2 separate regions of the Homo sapiens genome follow, and region 2 is linked to region 1. Evidence: promoter capture Hi-C in 16 types of primary human blood cells and fetal thymus (Javierre and others, 2016). All regions are on one chromosome and are shown on one strand. The core of a region is centred on a gene start or on the middle of the fragment in contact, and the rest is flanking DNA. Distances in the headings are between cores, read along the strand shown.

The links. The method cuts DNA at HindIII sites, captures the fragments that hold promoters and counts their contacts. A CHiCAGO score of 5 or more calls a contact.
Region 2: a contact is called between a fragment that was not itself captured here and the fragment with the promoter of SLC40A1 in region 1, in 1 of 17 cell types (erythroblasts). The highest score is 5.9, in erythroblasts.

What each region holds. Positions count from the first base shown.
Region 1 is chr2:189,579,450-189,582,149 of GRCh38, forward strand. It overlaps SLC40A1 (solute carrier family 40 member 1), which reads right to left and starts at 1,337. Exons shown (of 8, transcript NM_014585.6): 1 at 969-1,337; 2 at 364-431. The coding sequence starts at 1,011. RefSeq lists silencers at 1,291-1,350, 1,421-1,590. The HindIII fragment of the contact is 14,460 bases long and covers 1-2,700 here.
Region 2 is chr2:189,632,770-189,635,469 of GRCh38, forward strand. No RefSeq gene overlaps it. Among named protein-coding and RNA genes, the nearest start is that of ASDURF, 27 kb to the right of the region's middle. The HindIII fragment of the contact is 887 bases long and covers 946-1,832 here.

The DNA.
Region 1 (2,700 bases), core at 87-2,586:
TGTGAAGAAGAGAAGGTATATGAGACATCCATCCATCTTTTGTAGCAGATATGTCTATTTACCAAAGCTACTAATGCAACATAAAATTTAAAAACAAGGCAAATATTCCTTTCCTTGATAATCTTGTCTGGATAGTTGTCTATCTACATAAACTACGATGATCTGATAATTAAGTTGCATTAACTAACACTCATGGGGAAAGATCTTCGATGTAAATAACGTTTTCATTAAAGCATGTGTACTTGGATGATTTATTTCTTTAACTGCTTGACAAAACTGGAAGTTGGCTTAATACAACTGGCTAGAACGAAAGGAAATAAAAAATTGCGCAACTGTGTTGTAAGACTATGCATTCTCACTTACCCAAGTAGAGAGAGAATGACCAAGGTAGAGAAGGAATTTTGCAGAGGTCAGGTAGTCGGCCAAGGATCCTGCAAAGACACAGGCGGGGTGACAAAAAGCGATGGTAGTCACTTAATGAGCTGAGGGCAGAATGCTTATCCATTTGATCTCATTAGAACATGATTATTAAAAACTACTTTGCAGGACAAACCACGTACATTTTATCAAGTTACCTATGAACCGATGTATTTCGTTCACTTAATACCATTCACTAAATTCAGTTATTGACCTAGTCAATAACTGCCCAACTTCACATTTCACATACAGTGAAGAAACTCTTGTTTCAGCATTCTTTTTTGGGTTGGTTGGTTTGTTTGTTTTGTTTCTTTTTTACACAAGGCAATCCAAACTGCCCAATCTACTCCATCCGTGCCTGTGTGCAAACCCCTTTTCCCACACCCTGAATTTCCTTTCTTCCTTAACGTCCACCAAATATGAGTCAAAGGATCTTTTTACAAAGCTATGGTTCACAGCAGAGCCACATTCCTCCAGAACTCGTGTAGAGTTGCTTGTCTCCAAAGCCCCACCTGGGTTTCCACCATATGCTTTCGGTCAACGACACTCACCACAGCATCCTCTCTGGCGGTTGTGATCTCCCGCCCTGGTCATGACACTAGGCGACCCCGCTGGCTCTTCTGCGGCTGCTATCGCTGCTGCTGCTCTCGCTGAGGTGCTTGTTAACAGGAGTGCAAGGAACTGGAGATAGCACCTCTAAAAACACAACAGCCTTGGGCAAAAAGACTACAACGACGACTTTGGCAAAGAACAAAAGAAAAGGGGCCCAGGGATTTTCTTTTTTCCTTCTTTCCAAACTTAGCTAACACTGTAGCTGAAGTTGGAAAGGCAAAGCCTTATGGAAGCGGTTTGGGAGGCTCAGCAGGTCGTCCGAGCCTAGCGGACGCCCTGAGCCAGCTCTCTCCGCCGCCGCCGCCGCCGCCGTGGGCCGGGCCCAGCTCTTATACCGAGTCGGGGGCGGAGCTCCCTGCGACCTCCGACTGGGGCCGCCCCGTCCCCTTCAGGGCCGCCCGGGCGTCCCCGCGGCGCGAGACGAGCTCCCGTCAACCTTGCGCGCCGGGCCGTCCCCGCGCCCTTGCCCGGAGGAGTCGCCCACCCCGGGCGCAAGCGTCCAACCGGCCGCAGACACCCTGCGCGGCTTGCGGGGACCTTCGCCTCGACGCGTTCCACTCCCCGGGTTTTCCTGCTCTCCGGGAAGCCGCGAGGGCAACCTCGGGGGGCGGCCGTGGGGCTGGGAAAAGGAGGAAGGCGCGTGGAGCCGGCGGGGCGGCGTAGGGAGATTCTGCGCGAAACTAAGCGTCAGGTGCTGGAAGAAAGCGCTGCGCACCGGCTACCCCGCAGTTCAGGGAAAGGGCGGCCGCCGGACGGTCGCAGTGCAAAGCTCCAGCGCGAGCTTGGTGGGTGGGGATTCCTTTTTTAACGAAAATAATTTTTAATACAGGTATCTAAATAAATATAATTCATGCCACAGAGGCCGCTTTCCTGGCCGTCCCATTCCGGCCCGCCTGCAGCAGAGAATGCCTTTCCTTCCCCGGACTGCATAGCAGGGCTTCCCTCAAAGAACCAGAATCAAAGGGCAGGAAGGGGGCGCAAAGATCAGAGTCCATCCCTCTTGAGAGGAGCAAACGGAGGCTTGCAAAGGTGAAGTCCCGCAGCGAGTTACAGACCTACCCGTATCCCCAAACTGGGGCCTCCAAATCCGTCCTGGAGACAGAATGAGGATGCTGCAGCCCCAGCAAACCCTTCACCATCATTCCTTCTCCCTCTGTACCCTCTCACCCCGCCCCCACGCGCGCGTCCCTTCCCCACCTAACCTCCAAATGCCCCAGTGACAGGCTTACCAGGAATACCGGTTATCCCAGTTGTGTCCCTGGATCTGTCCCTGTCCAGATAAAGCCATTCGGTGGCCTCCTGGAGGGTGAGGTGAATGACTAAAGAACACCAGACTCTAGCCTTGGTTGACTTCGTTTTAATCCTGCTGTGCCAAACCAACCCCTGGGGCATACCAGCCCCTTTTGCCAGTAGGTTACCTTACCCTTCTTAATCTCACGAAAACCCTGGTAGTGGATCCTACATATTGAAACTCCAACCAGATGCCACACCTTGAGCACAGGCCAGACTGACACCCAGTAGTGAAGGGAGCCACGCATGAGTATGTGCCCTGTATCTGCACTCTCAATCAGGAGCCCCAAAGGTCTACGGGGTGGGTGCAGCTGGATTCGGTTGGGATGTGGTCTGGTGAGTAGAGATAGGGGTTACAGTTTAACTACTGCTTTTCACTGC
Region 2 (2,700 bases), core at 139-2,638, 53 kb after region 1:
GCCTCCTCTCCAGCCATCACCCCACACCTCTCCGATTCCAGTCATACCACCATGTTTATCGTCCCCTAAAGCCATGGCTCTGAGTCTCTGCAGAGGCTGTTTCCTTTGCCTGGAGTCCTTGTTCTCCCTCTGTGCCTGGTAAACTCCTGCTCATCTTAAGCATCTGTTCCAGCTTGGTTTCCTTTTAAAAGTCTTCCATGATTTCCTCAGGTAGAGTTACTCTTTCCTCTGAGCTCCCAAATTTCCATTCCTCAGCTACAATATTTATTACATTGTGGTGTAGCTGTTTCCTTGCCCAGCTTCTCCACTTGGCTGAGACTTCTTTGAGGATAGAGACCATTTTACTCATCTTTGTACCTTCAGTAGGTAGCAACAGTGCCAATCACATAGTAGTAACTTAATAAGTCTAGGTTGACTGAATGTTGAATATGTTTTAAATGCTTGATTGAGAACATTCAGTGACATTGTCAGAGAGAAGAAAAACAAGTTTCTAGTGTACTTTTTTCTATATACCATTCTGCACTTTGTGTAAGGTGGCTCACATTGTAAAAGCATACAGACCTAAACCAATAACATCATTTACCTAAAAAGCAAGAATCCCTTACATCCTTGGTGATAGAACATGTATGTAGTATGCTGTATTTCATATGACATTAAAGATTTAAAATACAGTTGAAATTAGAAATGTAAATAAGTGGAAGAACTAAATAAGCAAGTGGTTTTAATTGGGGATGAGTTTGCCCCCTAGGGGACATTTGGCAAAGTCTGGGACCATTTTTGGTTGTTACAACTTGGAGGATGGGGCTGCTGCTACCATGTAGTGGGTAGAGGCCAGGGATGCTGCTAGACATCCTATAAAGTAGGGGTCCCCAACTCCCAGGCCACGGACCAGCCTGTTAGCAACCTGGTCATGCAGCCGGAGGTGAACAGCGGGAGAATAAGCAAAGCTTCATCTGTATTTACAGCCACTCCCCAATGCTCAAGTTACCACCTGAGCTCCACCTCCTGTCGGATGAGCGGTGGCATTAGATTCTCATAGAAGTGCAAATTCTATTGTGAACTGCACATGCAAGGGACCTAGGTTGCATGCTCCTTCTGAGAATCTTATGCCTGATGATTTGTCACTGTCTCCCATCACCCCCAGATGGGACCATCTAGTTGCAGGAAAATTAGCTAAGGGTTCCCACTGATTCTACATTATGGTAATTTATATAATTATTTCATTATATATTACAAGGCAATAATAGAAATAAAGTGCATGATAAATGTAGTGCACTTGAATCATACCAAAACTACTCCCCCCGGCCCCTGGTCTGTGGAAAAATTGTCTTACACAAAACTGTTCCCTGGTCCCAAGAAGACTGGGGGCAGCTGCCATAAATCATAGGACAAACCCCGCAGCAAAGAATTATCTGGCCTTAAATGTCAATGGTACCAAGGTTGAAAAACTCTGACCTAACCCTTTTACCTCAAGAAACTATAATTTTTTTTTTTGCAAATTACTATAATGACATTGAAGTTATGATGGGTTCTTAGGGGAATGTAATTGGTTCACTAGTCAACTGCTAGGAATGTACAACTTCTAAAAATAATTGTAAAATGTTGTACTCTGAACTCAGGGAAATATCAATCTTGAGAAAAGTGAAGGGCTGGGTATCATGTTCAACATTTGATCAGTAGTAATTTGAACTCTGCTAAAACAATTAGATGATAATAAACATCATATTCAATCTCAAAACATTTGGGTAATTATTAATAAGCATTAAAGAAAGCATTATTGCTGATAAAATGGATGATGACTTTGGAAAGAATCACTTGGCTACTTAGCAATAAGCTTACCAACCTTTGTAACATTTCAGCAATGCATACAAGATTAGGGTAGTTTAAAAATCAGAAAATACATCAAAGCAGAATCAGAAAATGTGAAAGTACTCTAAATAATGAAAACTAAGCTTAACTTGTCACCCAGATTCCAGAATATATGTTAAGAATATGGTGAGAATAGCAACACTTCAAACTTACTTACCTTATTCCAGTGACAATATAGGAATGTGATGCAAAACAAAATCTCTACCTCTGTCTCTAACTTGTTACTGACCATATTTTGACAACCTACAGGTGGGCTTCACTTAGATTTACCTTTGACATACAAATACAGATTGAGCATCCCTAATCTGAAAATCTGAAATCTGAAATGCTCCAAAATCCAAAACATTTTGAGTGCTGATATCACCCTACAAATGGAAAATTCCACACTCGGTACCTTTGCTTTCTGATGGTTGAATGTACACAAACTTTGTTTCATGCACAAATTTATTGAAAATATTGTATGAAATTACTTTCAGGCTATGTGTATAAGGTATATACGAAACATAAATGAATTTTGTGTTTAGACTTTAATCTCATCCCCAAGATCTCATTATGTATATGCAAATAGTCTAAAATCCAAAAAACTCTGAAATACGTAACACCTGCGGTCTCAAGCATTTCAAATTATACTTAACCTGTGTAACACTTCAAAAAATGAACTTATCATTTTTCCATAATGAAATGGAAGCTCTTAAATTATTTTCAATGGCATCACCCAATTTCTGAGTACCTAGGCTCATAATTCTATTATCTTTCATTTCACTCTCTACACTTCAGCCTCAATATCCAACTACCCTCTGGATTTGTATCCTACAGTATCTTTTCGATTTG